Linked DNA regions of Homo sapiens: regions 2, 3 and 4 are each linked to region 1. The links are contacts of gene promoters, found by promoter capture Hi-C in blood cells and fetal thymus (Javierre and others, 2016). All regions are on one chromosome and are shown on one strand. Each heading gives the region's core, a stretch centred on a gene start or on the middle of the fragment in contact. The rest is flanking DNA. Distances are from core to core; before and after follow the strand shown. Region 1 holds the start of GLYR1 (glyoxylate reductase 1 homolog). Region 2 holds the start of TFAP4 (transcription factor AP-4). Region 3 has its middle 20 kb from the start of GLIS2. Region 4 holds the start of GLIS2 (GLIS family zinc finger 2).

The links. The method cuts DNA at HindIII sites, captures the fragments that hold promoters and counts their contacts. A CHiCAGO score of 5 or more calls a contact.
Region 2: the fragment with the promoter of TFAP4 here is called in contact with the fragment with the promoter of GLYR1 in region 1 in 6 of 17 cell types (fetal thymus, naive CD8 T cells, naive B cells and 3 more); the score reaches 9.2 in fetal thymus.
Region 3: a fragment that was not itself captured here is called in contact with the fragment with the promoter of GLYR1 in region 1 in 1 of 17 cell types (neutrophils); the score reaches 5.3 in neutrophils.
Region 4: the fragment with the promoter of GLIS2 here is called in contact with the fragment with the promoter of GLYR1 in region 1 in 2 of 17 cell types (total B cells and neutrophils); the score reaches 6.5 in total B cells.

Annotation. Positions count from the first base shown.
Region 1 is chr16:4,844,795-4,849,406 of GRCh38, reverse strand. It overlaps GLYR1 (glyoxylate reductase 1 homolog), which reads left to right and starts at 2,119. Exons shown (of 16, transcript NM_032569.4): 1 at 2,119-2,179; 2 at 3,197-3,233; 3 at 4,254-4,333. The coding sequence starts at 2,142. UBN1 (ubinuclein 1) reads right to left here and starts at 1,926. Exons shown (of 18, transcript NM_001079514.3): 1 at 1,197-1,926. RefSeq lists silencers at 1,246-1,335, 1,346-2,065 and enhancers at 1,118-1,960, 2,256-2,315, 2,616-2,675. The HindIII fragment of the contact is 6,120 bases long and covers 1-3,076 here.
Region 2 is chr16:4,270,595-4,275,206 of GRCh38, reverse strand. It overlaps TFAP4 (transcription factor AP-4), which reads left to right and starts at 2,184. Exons shown (of 7, transcript NM_003223.3): 1 at 2,184-2,549. The coding sequence starts at 2,461. RefSeq lists silencers at 1,240-1,889, 2,610-2,659, 3,020-3,179 and enhancers at 1,038-2,013, 2,310-2,359, 3,260-3,449, 2,991-3,967. The HindIII fragment of the contact is 8,835 bases long and covers 1-3,598 here.
Region 3 is chr16:4,293,261-4,297,872 of GRCh38, reverse strand. No RefSeq gene overlaps it. Among named protein-coding and RNA genes, the nearest start is that of GLIS2, 20 kb to the left of the region's middle. RefSeq lists enhancers at 265-1,138, 2,778-3,437. The HindIII fragment of the contact is 3,103 bases long and covers 285-3,387 here.
Region 4 is chr16:4,313,248-4,317,859 of GRCh38, reverse strand. GLIS2 (GLIS family zinc finger 2) reads right to left here and starts at 1,793. Exons shown (of 7, transcript NM_032575.3): 1 at 1,606-1,793. RefSeq lists enhancers at 1-531, 2,653-3,165, 3,166-3,678 and a silencer at 2,958-3,252. The HindIII fragment of the contact is 6,668 bases long and covers 1-4,612 here.

The DNA.
Region 1 (4,612 bases), core at 870-3,369:
TTATAATGAGTACCCTTCCTGAATTCTTATTTTAATGGGTTTTTTGGTTTTTGTTTTTGTTTTCAAAATAGGCAGACCTATCATCCACGGAAATGAGAATTCTGTCTTCCCTTTTCCAAAAATTGCATTTCTTATTTTTGTTTCCTGTCTTACTGCACTGGCTAGAACTTTCAGGTTTTAGGCAATATATTCTTATTATCTAATAGTGGTAGAAATGTACCATGTTTCTGATGTTAAGGGGAATGCCTCTAGGTTTTGGTGCAATGTTCATTTGAGATTTTTTTTTCTTTTTTCTTTTTGGCGGGGGGACGAGTCTCGCTCGCTCTGTCGCCTAGCTGGAGTGCAGTGACATAATCTCGGCTCACGGCAACCTCCGCTTCCCGGGTTAAGCGATTCTCCTGCCTCAGCCTCCCAAGTAGCTGGGACTACAGGCATGCGCCACCACGCCCGGCTAATTTTGTATTTTTAGTAGAGTACTGGGTTTGACCGTGTTGGCCAGGCTGGTCTCGAACTCCTGATCTCAGGTGGTCCACCCGCCTCGGCATCCCAAAATGCTGGGATTACAGGCTTATACCACCCTGCCCGGCCAAGATTCATGTTTTTATTTAAGTTATTAAAATCTCATTCAATTCCTCACAAATTCAGAATTTTTAAACAGGAACTTATGTTAAATTTTTATCAAATTATTCCCTGGAATCTTAAATACGCTTTAAAGATCACTTTGTCTTAAAAATACACACGCAGTAAATGACAGTCCGTGCAGCTAATTCTTGGTACTTCAGGGAAACTGATCTCCCAAGAAAAATCAGGCTGCGGGACGACCCAGTACGCTAAACACCGACTTGCAACCGAAATCTCTAACCACCACAATGCCTTGGGGAAATGCGTGTCGACTCGCCACCTTTGCCAGCTGGCAGTGACTCAACAAGAGCCCGACACCAAGTCTAAGTCAATCCTTAACACTGTGGAGTCTGTGATCGGGACTGGGATCTTTTGCAAAATTGTGATTCTACCTGGTCTGCTGAAGTTTGGGCCGACGCTGCGCTCAACTGCAGTTAACACTTCCCAGTTCATGGTTCAGTTTTAAAGTGTCCAAACTACGCCCGGCATCTGTCTTCCTGTTGTCACAACTTTTTCAAAAGTGCAAAACTAGGGCAAGGCTAACGAGAGAGCCCGGACCCGACAACGACACGCACCTTTGTCCCCAGCGCCGACGCGGGCCGCAGACGTCCCCCCGCGGCGGTCCTCATGCCGGTCCCCGGGCGGCGGCGCAGCTAGCGGTCGGCTGCTAAGCCGTGGCTCCCAGCGGGCGGGCGGCCCGCGCCTCGGCCCATGGCCGGGTCCCCGAGCCCAGGGGAGCCTGGTGTGCCGCGCCGCGCGCCGGCCCAGGAGGAAGCGAAGAAATGCCAACTCGACGTCCGCGCAGCCACTCCGGGGACACCAGGGGGTCGGGGGAGCAGCCTCCGGTCGCCCCAGGAGAACTTGCGGCGCGGGACCCCGCGCTCAGACGGCGCCTCCGAAAGCGGCCGTCGGGAGGAGCGCTCCAAAGAACACGGGCGGCGGGAGCGGACGGGCGCGGACACCGGGGCCTCCCGGCCTGCGGCCAAGCAGAGTTGCCGGGCGCGGGAGCCCAGACCCGGCGGAGGCTGAGTTCCAGGCCGCGCCGAGCTCCGTCAGGGTAGCTCACTGGCGCTGCGACGGGGCCGACCAGCGCCTCGGGCTCGGGAATGGCCCCGGGGCCCGCGCCGGACCAACGGGCGTAACGGAAGCGCCGAGAGGGGAGGGGCGCGGAGTCCAAGACCCGGGGGCGGGGCGAGCCGCGAGGCCGGCTCCCTCTCGCGCTCAGCCGGTCGCACCGTCGCCGCCGCCGCCGCCTCAGACCGCGGGCGCTTCGTTGTCACGAGCCGAAGGGAGGGGGAAGGAGCCGGGAGTCTCTGCGCTCCGGCGCGCGGAGACCGCGGCGCTCGCGTCACGTGCCCCTCGGTCGACCAATGATCCCCGGCGGGCGCGGTGACGTCAGAGTAGCGGCGTGGCCAGTGACAGCCGGCCCCCGTCACGTGGTCGGGCCCACTCCAATGGGCGGCGCCGGGGCGACTTGCTGTTCCCGGCGGCCCGTGCGTCGGCGGTGGTTGGGTGGTAAGATGGCGGCTGTGAGTCTGCGGCTCGGCGACTTGGTGTGGTGAGTCCGAGCGGCCGGGCCAACCGAGACGCGCCGGGGAGCTACCCGCCTGGGCGCGGGGTTCGCTGCCGGCCCTGGAGCTGCCTTTTTATGCGCTCCAGGTCGCGGAGAGAGGGGAAGAGAAGGTGCCGGCGCTTGCGAGCGGCGCCAGGCGGAAGGGGCAGTCCAGTCCCGGGGGACCGAGGCCGAGGGTGGCCACGTCGGGCACCGGCTTTGATCCCCGAGGCCGGCCGGGTGGGGTCTGCACTCGGGGCCCAGATACTGGCGGCCCCCGTGAAGGGAGCCGCCGGTGCCGCGAGGCTTCCCCGGACGACCGGTCCCCGGGGTCTTGTTGGGGCTTCCCAGAAAGCAGAAGCGCCGGGGACCGGACCTGCGAGATCTGGCCGGTGCCATTCGGTCAAAGCCCAGGTTGCGATGCAGCCGACCTGTGCGGCCGGCTCAGCCGGGGTTGTCTAAACCGGACTGCTGGCGTTGCCCCGCGAAGAAACGGCGGGGGGACTTCTCCTTTACAACCGATGGCTTGGCAGTGACCAGTGCACGCTTGGGTGCCTCCCGCGGTCTGCTTCTGTGTCCCAGACAACCGCCCGAACCAAGACTTTGTCGCCGCCTCCCTCGAGCTGCGTAGCTTGTTTCTCCACCCAGAGGAAGGCTTCCATTAGCATTTGTCAAAGCCAGGCAGGTCTCCTGTTGAATTAAACCAGACTTAGGGAGGGAAAGTCTGTGTTTACAGAGGAAGCTGTCCTCCCACCCCCGTCATTAAGAAGCTCTAGACAAGTGACTTTTGACAGTTGTGTTGTTCTGTATTCCTTGTCAACAGAAGAATGGATATGCGTTGTGCACATAAGTATACAATTTTGCATTTTACTTCTGAGGGTGTTGGGCCCAGCTATGAAAGCTTTTGTTTCGGCATTTGAGGATGCCAGCAGAGATTTAGGAAAATAAATTGCGTATTGAGTGGGTTGAAGGAGATGGACTGGCTTTTGCAGGGCAAGTGTTGACTCTTTGTGTTTTCTCTAGGGGGAAACTCGGCCGATATCCTCCTTGGCCAGGAAAGGTGAGTGTCTTGCTACTAAAGGAAGAGATCTGAAGTTGGGTTTGAAGAGGTGGAGAATGTAAGATGCATTCCTCTCAGTTTCTAGTATTGAGTTAAATTGGGCTCATTCAGATGGCACTTAGAATTTTTTTTCCCCTAGTATCGGTTATTTTTTAAAAGGCAATGCAGTATACACCAGATCATTAAATCTTCTCTAAACCCTTATTTCTGGATTTAGAGGAGGTTTATGAAGTTTCTTTTTTAACCCCGGAAATAATTCTAGTCTGAATTTAGCTTTATGCTTAAATGTAACAAAAGGAGAAGAAAATATAAATTATCCAGGAAGAAAGTCTAAATGTAGGTTAGTGAAAAGCCAAAGTATTTTTGTCCCAACTAAGTTTAAATCTTCTTTCCATGTTACCATATGTGCTACTCCAGTGCCTCTTTGCAGAAGTTGGCATTCCAGATTTTGCATGAGGTGATCCATCATTGCTTTCCAAATGTTGTGTTTTTATATTCTTGCTTGGAGCCCGGGAGGTGTCTTTAGATGGTCTCTTTGCAATATGGTGTTTTCTGTGCCTCGGTTGTCCTTTGTTTTCACTATGTCCTGTGTCAACCCTTCCTGCACAGGAAGTATTTCAAAGAGTGTCGTCTGCATTTTTTCAGTAATAATGGGGTCACATTGGAGCAGGGGTGGGGTGGTGGGGGGCAGGGGATGCTGTTGATCTTAGTTTTAACTGCTTGTAAAACAGGGCCACTGCAGTAAAAGGGATATTGTGTCTACTGAGCACTGTGCTACATGTTAAATATTGGGAACTTCTAGAATATCTACACATTTCCATACACCTCAATAGAAAAATGGGAGATTTAGACAAGTACTAGGCCTTGGGTTCTGTTTTGTATATAAATAAATTTATTTGTAAGTAAGTCCTTTTAATTTACTTTTTTCTTAGCAACGTAGAACTGTAGAGCAATGTGGAGCCACTAGAAAGTGGGCTGCTGTGTTGCCAGCCAACCTTTTTCCCCCCTTTTATCCTCCAGATTGTTAATCCACCAAAGGACTTGAAGAAACCTCGCGGAAAGAAATGCTTCTTTGTGAAATTTTTTGGAACAGAAGATCAGTGAGTAGTACTCACCAGGAGTCTCCCTTCGCCTTTCTTTCTGTGTTACCTGGAGTCTGAGCTGCTTTGAAAATATTCTAAGGATCCTTAGTTCAGTCTTCTTATAATGTGTAATACTGGCATCTCATTCTGCCTTCATACCTAAATAAAGGTGCAATTTCTTGCAGAAATTGCCCTAGACAACTGTCCTAGGTCTATAACTAAGTCAGGCAAGAACTAGGTTCATTTACCTTCTAACTATAACAATCACATTGAAACAGTTTCTCACATGTTTCTTTA
Region 2 (4,612 bases), core at 935-3,434, 570 kb after region 1:
GTAATCCTGGCACTTTGGGGGACCGGGGTGGGCAGATCGCCTGAGGTCAGGAGTTTGAGACCAGCCTGGCCAACAGGGCAAAATCCCATCTGTACTAAAAATACAAAAATTAGCCGGGCTTGGTGGTGTGTGCCTGTAACCACAGCTACTTGGGAGGCTGAGGCAGAAGAATCACTTGAACCCAGGAGGCGGAGGTTGCAGTGAGCCGAGATCGTGCCACTGCACTCTAGCCTGGGTGACAAAGCAAGACTCCGTCTTAAAAAACAAAACAAAACAAAACAAAAAAAAGAATAGCTTGCTCACTAAGGGCAGTTAAAAATAGGCTTCCCACCAGGGCCATCCATGGCTCATGCTTGTAATCCCAGCAATTTGGGAGGTAGAGGTAGGATTCCTTGAGTCCCAGGAGTTCAAGACCAGGCTGGGCAACACAGTGAGACTCCTATCTCTATTTGTTGAAAAACAGTAAAAAGGTTTTTTTTTTTTTTTTTTTTTGAGACGGAGTTTCACTCTTGTTGCCCAGGCTGGAGTGCAATGACATGATCTTGGCTCACTGCAACCTCCACCTCCCGGGTTCAAGCGATTCTCCTGCTTCAGCCTCCCGAGTAGCTGAGATTACAGGCATGTGCCACCAGGCCCCCGGCTAATTTTGCATTTTTAGTAGAGACGGGGTTTCTCCATGTTGGTCAGGCTGGTCTCGAACTCCCGACCTCAGGTGATCCACCCGCCTCAGCCTCCCAAAGTGCTGAGATTACAGGCGTGAGCCAACGCGCCCAGCCGAAAGTTTTTTTTTTTTTTTTTTTTTTTTAAGTAGAAACATAGTAAGCCTTCCAGAGACTTTTTTTTGGTCAAGTGGTCTGGGATCTCTCCTTAGAGAAACTGCCTAACAGGTTGCTTCAAGGATTGGAGAGCGTGTAAGCAAAACTGCTCGGCATCCACCGGGTGCTGGCAACATCTAATAACAATATTTCCCAATAATAACAGTAACTATTGTTACTAGTAGGAATAAGTCAAATTAGGAGGCGCGATTTAGGCGGAACCTGGAAGGCGGTGGGCAGGATCCAGGACATTCCAAGGCAGGCGTGGGCTTCCTGAGCCAGGAGCCAACCCTCCAGGAGCCAGGGGAGGGCCTGGGGCCGGAAGGTGCGGCGTGCGAGCGGAGGACGGAAGCTCGCCGCCAGGGTCCCCGTCCCTGCCCCAAGTCGTCACCCCCTCTTGGGGAGCGCATCCTGGCGGAGGGGCAAGTCCCACACGGGCTTTGTTATGAATGGGAAGCTGCAGCCTTCAGCCCGCGGAGGGAACAGTGCGGGTCTGGGGGAATAGCAGGGGACCCGGCAGCAACCAGCAGACCTCCCCGCAGCGCTGGCAGCCTGCGCCCGGGGGCCGCTGCCGTTCAGGCCCGCCTCCACCCTCCCCTCCCTGCCGGGGCCCCCGGCTTCCTAGGGCGGCCCCAGCATCCGAGGCGCCCTTTGCCGTCCCGTCGCCGGGTCCAAGATTCCCAGGATCCGGAGTCCCGGCCGTGCGGCCAGCTAAGCAAGGCGGGAGGGAGGAAGCTGGCCGGCCTCCGAAGTCAGCCCCGAGTTACATGTGGGAAGCGGTGGCTGTGACGCAAGTTTCCAGGGGGCCCTGGGCTCGGCTCGAAGGGAGCACACCGGAGAGGCTCCGCTCCGTGCAGCTGCAATGGTGAAAAAGCAGAAGCCCCAAGCGCGAACCCCAGGCCGCCTTCCTTGCTGCCGCTGCACGCCCGACCCAGCCGCGCCCCCTCCTCCCTGCGGGCCGGCCGAGCGCGCGGACCCTGCTCTGGGCCAGTCGCTGCTGGACTCCGGGCTGCACGGGCTGGGCTCCCTGCGCGGTGGCTGGCCTTTTTTTTTTTTTTTTTGCAACGCTTGCCAACCTGTCAGCTGATGGACCTCATCACCCATAGTGGCGCATGTAGCTCGGCCGCAGCTCGCTCCATTCACGCCGCGCCCCGCAAGCCCGCCCGCGGCCCCCGGCCCCCTGCGCCCCGCGAGAGGCCTGCAGACCCCGGTTGCAGCCGGTCCCCGGGGGCCCGCGCCCCTCTCGCCCCGGCCTCGCGCCGCCCGGGGGGCGCTGCAAATAGTCCTTTGTTTACATGCAATTCCTTACTCCGCGGAAGGAGGCCGGGGGAGTGCTGAGTTTTCACCAGCTGTTTCCCGCCTTGAAACAGACATCTGATCAGCTGCAAACACACACACACACACACACACACACACACACACACACACACACACACATACACACGCCCGGGGAGGCAGGCCGGAGAGACCTCCCTCCCGCCCCTCCCGCCCGCCTCCCTCCCCTCGCCGCCGCCGCCGCCGCCAGCATCTGGGACCGGCCGATTCTGCACCTCCGTCCGGCGCTGCCCTTTGATTCGGATTTCCATCTTGCATTCTCCGGCTGATCGCGGGACCTGGCTCGTGCAGAGGAGGGGGGCCGATCGCTATGGAGTATTTCATGGTGCCCACTCAGAAGGTGCCCTCTTTGCAACATTTCAGGAAAACAGAGAAAGAAGTGATAGGAGGGCTCTGTAGGTGTGTACTCCTCCTCCCCCCACCCCCTTCCTACCACTGCAGCCCCCGGCCAGCCCGCCCGGGCGGGCGCGCGTGTGCGCACGCATGGCCCGCGCCGCCGACCCCGCTAGCCTTTCTTAGCTGCCGGGACGGCTGCAGCCCCACACGCCGGGTCCGCGCCGCCCCGGGACCCTCCTTCCTTGGAGCATGGGGGCCCCAAGCGGCCCCGGCCACTTTTGTCCGCTGCAGGCGGGCGAGTCGCGACGTTTGTAAATTGCAAACAGACCCACGTGGTTCTGCAGCAGTCCCGGCCATGCTTGGTGCTGGTGGCCTTCCCCCCCGCGCTTCCTCTTTCCCCCTCCTGCGGCGGCTTCCTTCCTCTCCTTCCTTCCTCGGGATCTGAGGTCGTCCCCATCCAAGGGGGTCTGGGGGCCCGGGGCGCGCGTGGGGGTGTAGCTAGGGCGGCTACAATGCAGCCATGCCGCGGCTCCCGGCGCGGGGTGGGGGCGGGGAGCCGGGCACTGTGCGTGTTTGCAGAGCGGGGCTGCAGCGGGGTCGGGGGCGTGCTCGCGTGTGGGTGTTGGGGGTGGGCGGACCCCGAGGGGCCCGCGCGGCCGGTAGGGGCGCCGCGGCCCGGGGCACGTTGGCTGCCGCTCGCTCGCCCGCCCGCGCCCGGGCGCTGTTTACTAGCGAGGCCTGGACGTGACTCTGCAGCCCTCTTGGAGTAGGCGGACCTCTGCGCGCGGCCTCGCGGGAGCTGTAGTTCTCCGTGTCCTGCTGGTGCAGCATTGTGGGATTTGTAGGCGCTCCTGGGCCACGCTTTCCCTGCACAAAGCTCGGCCCCCGCGGGCACGATGGGCAAGGCAGGCCAGGTGGGCAGGCCATTTGGGGAAGGGACACCTGAGGCCGCCCCTAGCCTCGCAGGGCAGCTTCCCGCCGCACGTGGGTTTCCTCTGCAAACTTTCCCATCCAACGCCCCTCCCCCCTGCCGTAAACCGAAAGCGTCGGGTCCCCCAGCCGGGTGGGTGGCCCGAGGTCCGCAGGCCTCCCCAGAAGCCACTTTGCAAGCTTTGGTCCTAGGTTGCTCTAAACCCAAAGGGTGATGGACTCAAGGACCACACACAGCCAAACCACCCCGCACACTTCTTAAAATGCACATGCCTGGAACTCTGATCGCTGGGGCCCGGACATCTGCATTTTGAACGACCCCCTGGGCGTGGTGTGGGGGAGGTGGGCGTTCTACGGCGTGCGCAAGTTTGGGACCTGTGGCCCCTTTCCTGCCGCGCTGCTCCAGGAGCGAAATGGCTCCCCAGGGCTGGAGCCACGTGCTCTGCCGCCCGAGGCAGTCTGGGCGGGGATTGAGGGAGGAGGAGCCCGCCGGTGTGGCACAGGCTGGTGGACGCTAGCGCCTGCAGAATCCGGCCTGGAGGGAAGGTTGCTGCACACGTGTAGACACTCCTGCCCAACCCTCTGCCCCGGGGGTCCCCACCTTAAGGCTACTCTGAAGTTCCCAGTCAATACCTAGACTTGGGCCAGTTGATGGGTTTGGCAGCTGGCAGGGATGCCCCGAGGGCTGGCCCTTGCACGAGGCCCACCTGGAGGGCCCAGTAATAATAAGTAAAAAAAATTCTTGAGCTCTTTTTATGTTCTGGGGACTCACTTTGCTAGAATTTTCTCACTGAGTTGTCATAATCTTTCTATGAGTCAAAAGTGTCTTTTGATTCCGCTTAAAGAGGCGGACACAGAGACTGGAGAAGGGACCACTACAGCAGGTGGTGGAACTGGAACTTGAACCCTTGTCCTGGGGTTGCTGCTGCTGCAGGGCTGGGCTGGGCAGCGCGGAGGTGCAGTTGAGCCGCTGTGCCTACTGGAGAAGACATTCTGGGCCTGATCCTGGGCAGGGTTGGGGGGCCCTCTGGCTGCCATGCCTGGGCCTTGGGTGAGTCCTCTCAGGGCCCCCTGAGATTCTGGCTTCAATTTATCCCTGCCCCAAGCGTTCCTTTGGAGCATACCAGCAGTCCCCCAGGGTAGCTGGATCTTGGTAGGCCAAGGACTTGAAGGTGTAGGGCCTTCGTCCAGGGTTG
Region 3 (4,612 bases), core at 587-3,086, 550 kb after region 1:
GACGGGAAGATGGCTTGAGCCCAGGAGGTTAAGGCTGCGGTGAGCCTTGATCGCACCACTGCATTCCAGCCTGGTCAACAGAGCAAGGCCCTATCTCAAAAACAAAACAAAAAAACATAAATACAAGAGCGACCCCCCAGCTCTGCTAAGCTGCCTCCACCATGCTGGCTGCCAGGCCCTGTGCTCAGCTTCATGGGCTTTAGCGTCCCCAGGTGTCCCTTTGGTTGAGTCTCTCCCTTAAGCTCTCAGATGCTCATTTTCTTCATCTCTGAAATCTCCAAGCTTCTTTTCAGGATTGGATGAGACAATCCTGGCAAATCCCTTGGCACAGGCCTTGCCCCAAGGAGGCAGATGATAGCTCACGTCTAGTTCCTTTCTCATCCTGACATCTAGGTTCTCTGTGATCTGCCTGTGGGCTCGAAGGATGGTGTGCATGTGTGTGTTTGCATGTGTGTGCGTGGGTGTGCATGAGTGTGTCTGCACGCAGCAGCAGCAGCCCCCTTTCTGTTCTCCTAGGAGTTTTGTATTTGATTTCTCCTCCAGAGTCTTGGGGGCTCCACAGGAGAGATGGTGGAGGCGGGAGGAGCAAGAAAGGGGTGAGGTTAGAAGCCTGGTCCCAGCTGGGGCTGCAGCTGGGGGCCTGCAGGCTCTGGCCTGCCCTGGGAGGCCCTCCCTGTACCTGCAGCTGCATCTGGGGCCGGAGGAGGGGCCAGGCGTCCTTCCGCTCCAGGAGCTGCTGCCTGTCCCCCTCCCATGACACATGAGGACTGTGTCTGGTCGATTCACATTGGAGGGTCCCTGAATGAGCTTTGTCCATTAGAGGACCTGTATTCTTGTTCCTGGAACCTGGGAGTGGGTCAGAAGGGTGACTCACACCTGTAATCCCAGCACTTTGGGAGGCCAAGGTGGGTGGATTACCTGAGGTCAGGAGTTTGAGACCAGCCTGGCCAACATGACGAAACCCCATCTCTACTAAAAATATAAAAATTAGCTTGGCATGGTGGTGCGTGCCTGTAATCCCAACCACTCGGGAGGCTGAGACAGGAGAACTGCTTAAACCTGGGAGGCAGAGGTTGCAGTGAGCCGAAATTGCGCCATTGCACTCCAGCCTGGGTGACAAGAGTGAGACTCTGTCTCAAAAAATAAAAATAGGCCGGGCGCAGTCGCTCACGCCTGTAATCCCAGCACTTTGGGAGGCCGAGGCAGGCAAATCACAAGGTTAGGAGATCGAGAGCATCCTGGCTAACACAGTGAAACCCCATCTCTACTAAAAATACAAAAAATTAGCCAGGTGTGGTGGCGGGCGCCTGTAGTCCCAGCTACTCCAGAGGCTGAGGCAGGAGAATGGCGTGAACCCAGGAGGCAGAGCTTGCAGTGAGCCAAGTTCGCGCCACTGCACTCCAGCCTGGGTGACAGAGAGAGACTCTGTCTAAAATAAATAAATTAGTTAATAATAATAAAAATAAAAAATAAAATCAAGCTGGGAGCAGTGGCTCATGCTTGTAATCCCGGCACTTTGGGAGGCTGAGACCGGCAGATCACCTGAGGTCAGGAGTTCGAGACCAACCTGGCCAACATGGTGAACCCCGTCTCTACTAAAAATACAAAAATTTGGCCGGGCACAGTGGCTCACGCCTGTAATCCTAGCACTTTGGGAGGCCAAGGCGGGCGGATCATGAGTTGAGGAGATCGAGACCATCCTGGCTAACACGGTGAAACCCCAGACCCCATCTCTACTAAAAAAATTAGCCGGGTGTGGTGGTGGGTGCCTGTAGTTTCAGCTACTCGGGAGGCTGAGCCAGGAGAATCGCTTGAACCAGGGAGGTGGAGGTTGCAGTGAGCTGAGATCGCACCACTGTACTCCAGCCTGGGTGACAGAGTGAGACTCCATCTCAAAAAAAGATTAAAAAATAAAAATAAGATATAATTCACATACCGTAAAATTCACCTCTTTGAAGTGTACAATCAGTGGTTTTTAGTGTATTCAGAGTCGTGCAACCATCATCAACATCTAATTTCAGAACATTTTCACCATCCCAAAAAGAAACCCTATACTCAAGAAGCAGCCACTCCCCATTCCTCTTTCCTCCCAGGCCCTGGCAACGCACCAGCCTGTTTTCTGCCTCTATGGATTTCCCTATTCTGGGCATTTCAAATAAAGTGGTGGTCTCTTGTGATTGGCTTTTCACTTAATGTTTCAAGGTTCGTCTATATTGTAGCATAGATCAGCACCTTGTTCCTTTTTATTTTTGAGACACAGTCTCGCTCTGTCGCTCAGGCTGGAGTGCAATGGTGAAATCTCTGCTCATTGCAAGCTCTGCCTCCCAAGTTCAAGCGATACTTGTGCCTCAGCCTCTGGAGTAGCTGGGATTACAGGCGTGGACCACCACGCCCGGCTATTTTTGCTCGTTTTTAGTAGAGATGGAGTTTCGTCATGTTGGCCAGGCTGGTCTTAAACTCCTGACTTCAAGTGATCGGCCCGCCTCAGCCTCCCAAAATGCTGGGATTACAGGGCGGCATGAGCCACCACACCCGGCCTTTATCTGTCTGTCTGTCTGTCTGTCTATCTATCTATCTAATCTATCTATTTTTGAGACAGAGTCTCCCTCTGTCCCCCAGGCTGAAGTGCAATGGCACAATCTCATCTCACTGCAACCTCTGCCTCCTGGGTTCAAGTGATTCTCCTGCCTCAGTCTCCCAACTAGCTAGGATTACGGGCGCCCACCACCACCCCCAGCTGATTTTTGTATTTTGAGTAGAGATGGGGTTTCACCATATTGCCCAGGCTGCTCTCCAACTCCTGGCCTCAAGCAACCCGCCTGCCTTGGCCTCCCAAAGTGCTGTGATTACAGGCATGAGCCACCGTGCCCAGCTTTTTTTTTTTTTTTTTTTTTTGAGACAGAGTCCTGCTCTGTCACCCATTTTGGAGTGCAGTGGCATGATCTCAGCTCACTGCAACCTCCACCTCCCAGGTTCAAACGATTCTTCTGCCTCAGCCTCCCGCGTAGCTGGGACTACAGGCGTGCATCACCACGCCCAGCTAATTTTTGTATTTTTAGTAGAGACAGGGTTTCACCGTATTGGCCGGGCTGGTGTCCGACTCCTGACCTCAGGTGATCCGCTTGCCTTGGCCTCCCAAAGTGCTGGGATTACAGGTGTGAGCCACTGCGCCCGGCCTATTTTTTTTATTAAAAAAAAAAAAAGAGTATGGATAAGGCACTCGCGCTGTGCCTGGTACCTCTCACCTCTCTGGTTGGTGCTTATGCATCCCTGAGGTGCCTGTGCAAAGGCAGGCGGACACCCAGGCCCGTGGAGGGGGCAGCAGCCCTGCGACATTCCCTGCCCCCAAGCAGCAGGAGGCTCATTTATCCATTTATCAGGGAAGCTTCCTGTGCCTCAGCTTTCCCAAGGTGGGGAAGGGTGAAGTCGAGGCCAGGCCTCTGCGGTTGGGACACCCCGAGGGATCTCCCTGTCCTCCTCCTCGGTTCTCCAGGCCCCACTCTGCCACTGCCCCATCTCCCCACCTAGAGCTTCCTGCAGAGCCGGGCAGAGCCGGGTGCCTTCTCTGCTGGTTGCCTGGGCGCCTGTGCCCCTTCCCTAGATCTGCAGTAGGGAACTGCTTCCCGGTGGCCTAAGGGCTTGGACGCTGGCCATGACCATGGACACCCCCACCACCCTGAGAGGGTGCCATACCCCAGCCCGAGGCTGGAGGGCCAGCTGTACGGCAGGGCCATGGAAGGGAGGACCAGGCAGCCTCCTGTGGCTCCTGCCAGGGAAACCCTCTCTGCTCGCTGCTGCTCAGCCTTTCCCAGCCCTGCCCCTCTCGTCTTGCTTCTCACATTTCAGCCTCTGAGTTACTGGCACCACTGTCTGTTGCTGCTGTTGCTGCTGCTGCTGCTGAAGCCGGCACCAGCCAGACATTAACCCCTGATGCGCTGGCGGCCGCAGCTGCACAGCAGGAAAGGGGCACCAGGGGCTCAAGCTCTGGCGGGCTTGAGGGAGGAGAGAGCAATCCCAGAGCCGGTCCCTTTGCTGCCCCCGGTCCCCACTCCACAGTGCTTACTGCGCTTGCTTCTTCCTTGTCTGCACAGACTTGAAGCCAAAACCCTTTCTGACCCCTACGAGTTGCTCCTTCCTCTGACAGTCTGGCTCTGACCATCAGCCCACAGGAAGGGGCTACATTTCACCTGGTAGCTGACCTTGTCGTTTCATGCATGGCCATGTTTTCTCCCTCCGTATGCCTTGTCATGCCCAGCGGGACCCTCCTCTTGTACCCGGATTTACCTGGCCACGGTTGAGCCACCAGGACCAGGTAAGCTCTTGAGTTTTGAGGCCAACAGGAAGCCATTCTCCAGGGCAGCCACGGGGGGATCTGGAGGAGCCTGAAAGAAGTGCAGGCCCTGGTAGTGGCTGGCTGTGATGGGCTTGGCCAAGCCCCTTGGGCGTGATCATAGGACTCAGGGCACCATGGTGAGGATGAAACTAGGAGTGCAGGTGGGGCGCGGCGGCTCACGCCTGTAATCCCAGCACTTAGGGAGGCCGAGGCGGGCAGATCACCTGAGGTCAGGACTTCAAGACCAGCCTGGCCAACATAGTTAAACTCTGTCTCTAC
Region 4 (4,612 bases), core at 544-3,043, 530 kb after region 1:
GAAAGGCTAAGAAAAACAGGGTTGCTTCCAAGGGGTCCGCACACCCCCCAAAACACCATCCCAAGTCCCTGGCACTGTCTCCTGCTTGGCTGGCTGCAGACAGGGCCAAGTTGAGCTGGAGGTGGGCAGTGAAATGGGCCAGGCTGGAGCTTGGCAAAGGGTGTCCTGGGAGGGGCCTCCCAGGTGCAGCCCCTCCCCCTGTGCAGGCCAGGCCAGCTAGGAGGCCCAGCCTGGGCTCTGGGGAGAAGGAGAAGCAGAGGGGGAGGTCCGAGGTCACCCGGGATGGGTGTGTGGGCTGGGCCTGGACAGCTGTGGCACTGTGGCACCAGAATGGGGCTTGGGGAGGGGTGACCCAAGGGGCCAGTTTCCCCTCCCCTGAGCCCGGGGGCTGGAAGGCCCTCCGAAGCGCAGTGTCTCTGGGCTTCCTCCCCAGCCGCAGGCTGGCCCCACCTTCCCTCCAGGATGCCAGGACACGCAGGATGGCGGCCTACTACCCAGGGTGCCAGCCTCCAAGAACCATGGCCCAGGCCCTTTCCATGGCCCAGACCAAGCCCAGGCCTTGGCCAGGTCCCCAGCCGGCCTGGCTGCCCCCTCAGTGTCAAGCGTTCCCTCCAGAGCCAAGATCCTGGGCTGTGATGGCTGGGGGCCCAGGGCCCCTCCCAGCATCCCTTCCAGCTTCCCAGGCCCCAGGGCAGGGCTGGGCAACTCCTTGAAACCATTGCTTCCCGGCCACCCTCTGGCCAGGCTGGGCGGGCCCTCCTGGACAGGCAGACAGGCTGCACGCTGCCCTGCTGTGGCCCGAGTACCCTGCTGGGCAGGGCAGCATGCCAAGGCCTCCAGGTGCCAGCCTGGATTCCAGCCCCATCCCAGGGGGCCAGCGGGGAAGCTGTGCGTGCTTCTCCTCCCTCGGGATGCACCTGCCTCGCCCCCTCCTCCACCCGCTCCAGACCCGCCCTCCGGCGAGTATGGACCCCTTGCCATCTCCTCCCTGCCAGGCCGGTCGCCTGCGTCCACCCGGACCGCAGGGGAGTAACAAGTGCCTGACTTGTCCCAAACTCCCAGTCCTGACCCCCCAGGGACGCCCCTTCCCGAGGTCCAAGGAAGGACCCGGGCTTGCGAGGGGCAGCAGGAGGGAGACTCTCCCGGCCAAGGGAGGAGGCACCTTCCAAAGCCCTTCCTAGCAGCAGCCCCGGCGCGGCCGAGAGGAGGGGCGGCTGCCCCGGACAACTTCATGCCCAGGCTCCGGGTACCCCCCTCTCACCTCGCCGCACGCCCCCCACCGCGGCCGCCCAACTTCCCAGCTGAAGTTTGCGCCCGCCCCGGGCCCGGGCGCTGCTCGGCCCGGCCTCCAGACGGAGGGAAGGAAGGAGGGAGAAGAAAGACCGAGAGCTCGAGGGACCCGGCCGGGGAGCCGGCGAGGGAGGGAGCGCGCGAGCCAGCGAGCGAGCGAACGCGGGGGCCTCGGCGAGGGCTCACAATGGCCCGGGGCGCGGACGCGAGCGGGGGAGGAGACCCTCGGGCCCCGCAGCCCCGGCGCGACAGGCGGGCCCCCCCCCCCCCGCCCCGGCCCGGTCCCCACGGCGCGACGCCCGGGGGGCTTCCTACCTCAGCGGCGGGGGCGGTCGGGATCCGGGCTGCGGGCTCCGGCGGTCGGGGGGCGCGGGGAGCCGAGCGGGGGAGGGGCCGGGACGGGCGGGGGCCGGGGCGCGAGGCCTCACGGGGCGCGGGCTCCCCTGGCACGGCCGCCCGGCGCCCGGCCGCTCCGCCACATCTGCAGCTCGGGCAGGGAAGGTGGCCGCGGCGGCCGGGCCGTGCGGGGATGTCTTAGAGGGAGGGCGGGCGGGCGGGAGGAGGGAGGAGGGAGGCGGCGGGAGGAGGGCCCGCCGGCCGCGGAGGAGGGCGAGGAGGAGGGGCGCGGGGGGCGGCCTCCACCCCTCCCCTCGCTCGCTCGCTCCCTCCCTCCCAGCAAAACCCCTCTCACCGCTGCGGCCCCAGGCCCGGGGCGCCAGCTGCCAGGCGGGGCGTGCGCGTCGGGGGAGGGGGCGGCGGGAGCCGGCGCTGGGCCGAGGGAGGGGGAAGGGAGGGCGGCGCGGCCGCGGGGAGCGGGCACCGGGAGGGAGGGGTGAGGGAGGGAAGTGGGGCGCCGAGCCGCGCGCGTCCTCCTCGGCCCCATCCTCACGCCACCCCCCCCCCGCGGCCCCGCCCCCGGCCCGAGGGCAGCGCTAGGACACGGCCGGGAGGTGGCCTGGGGGGGCGGGGGAGCCCGAGACGTCCCGCCCTCGGGGAAGCCCGAGGAGGGGGCCGGGCGCGCGGGCCCAGAGGAAAAGCCCCGCAGACCGGGAAGATGGAGGAGGTCGCGGCGGCGGAGCGGGCGGGGACCCCTCGCCTCCTCCCGCGGGGTCACCTTGGCCAGGCCCCCCTGCGGCCCCGGGCGGCGGGGAAGGCGGCAGGAATGCCTCTCTGCGGGCCCTGATTTCTCCGCCCAGCCCAGTTCCAGGAACGCGCAGGCAGCGCCCGGCGGGCAGAGGTCCCGGATCCCGATGCCGGGCGGCGCAAACCAGTTTTCGGGGCCCGGCGCAACCCCTCACGCTGGTGAGACGGCGGGCGACTCCCTGCCGTGCCCTCGGTCTCAGTTTCCCTCACGGTAGAATAACGACGAGGCCCGATGCCGAGCAATCCGAGCTTCCGCTTGGTTCCTAGCTTGGTCCCAGCATTTGGGACCACCTGCGTCCACTAGCCCGAGCGCCGCGGGAGGTCTAGATCCCTCCTGGACATCAGCACCCTGCGCGGCGCCCGCGGCCAGGGCAGCGAGTGCAGTGAGCGGATACACGCGAGGGAGAAGCCCCGCACCCGGCCCAGCTGTTTTCTGCCTCGTGTTGAACCACAGACTCGCGTTCTTGAGTGTGTTTTGTTTGGGCTAATCCCGTGCCCCCCGCCCTGTTATCTTCTTGCTGCTCTGCTGTATGCTGGCAAATTGTAGTTCAAAAAAACAGCCCTCCTGCTGTTGGACACCCCCTCTTCCCAGCGCAGTTGGCCTTGAGGAGCCTAGGAGACGAAAAAGGCATCCCAGAATCAGCATCCCCTAGAGGTGAGGCATCTGACGCTGGTTTTAAGTCCGTCTTCATTCGTGCATTTGATGCTGCGGTCCCCGCCAGAGCCCGAAGCACGTGGCTCTTGATCACAAGGCATCCATGGCAGGCACAAGGCTTGGCACATAGTAGGTGCTCCTGGGCTGGTGCCCAGATGGACACATAGCAGGTGCTCATGGGTTATGTGGACACACAATCGATGCTCATTGCATTTTAAGAGAATGCACACATAGTAGGTGCTCATGGGCTGGTGCCCAGATGGACACATAGCAGGTGCTCATGGGTTATGTGGACACACAATCGATGCTCATTGCATTTTAAGAGAATGCACACATAGTAGGTGCTCAGGACGTTGTGGGTGAATGCACACATAGTAGGTGTGGACTCGTAATGGATGCTCATGTTTTGGTCTAATGAACACATATTAGGTGCTCATGACCTGTTGTGGAAATGGGCACATAGTAGGTGCGCAGGAGCTGTAGGTTGATACCTGGAAGGGATGTAGGAAGGCCGTTTGCCTGGAGCAAAGGCTCGGAAGTTGGCGATTTGGAGGTGACCTCCCCCAGCCTCCACCCTCACCTCACCCCGGTCTCCTGAGTGTGGATAATGTGGAGTGTGGCCGGGTTAAACATTAGCCGGGAGATGGGCCCCGGGGGAAGGCCAGTTTCGGGACCTAGCGCTTCCAGGAGGGGGCTATTAAGGGCCGACTCTCTGGGTCCGGCGACCTGTGCGGGCGTCCGGAAGGGCCGAGGCCGAGGCCCGCAGAGCGCCCCCTCACGGCGGCGGGAATCGCTGCGCTTCAGCCCGGAGCCCTGCCCTGCAGCCGACCGCATCCGACCTCAGGCAGGCAGAACTGCAGCCCTGGGGTCGAGGTGTGTAGAAAAAAGGTACAGGAGACGCTAGTTTAAATCTGTTAGCAAAAATGTTTATCGGTCGGGCGCGGTGGCTCATACCTGTAAGCCCAGCACTTTGGGAGGCCGAAGTGGGAGGATCCCTGGAGGCCAGGAGTTGGAGACCAGCCTGGGCAACATAGCAAGACCCCCACCTCCCACCTAGTCTCTATTATATTTTTTAAAAATTGGCTGGGCGTGGTGGCTCACGCCCGTAATCCCAACGTTTTGGGAGACTGAGGCAGGCAGATCACTTGAGGTCAGGAGTTTGAAACCAGCCTGGCCAACATGGTGAAACCCCATCCCTGCTAAAAATACAAAAATTAGCCGGGCATGGTGGTGCGTGCTTGTAATCCCAACTACTCAGGAGGCTTAGGCAGGAGAATCGCTTGAGCCTGGAAGGCATAGGTTGCAGTGAGCTGAGATCATGCCATTGCACTCCAGCCTGGGTGACAAAGCAGGACTCCATCTCAAAAAAAAAAAAAAGAAACTTCCAGTTCTTGGCAAGACCAGTCTTTCTTTTTTTATTTTTCTTTGAATTTTTTTAGAGACAGGGTCTCCTTCTCTTGTCCAGGTTGGACTGCAATGGCTCTATCCTACCTCACTGTAGCCTCCCTCCAACTGCAGGGTTCA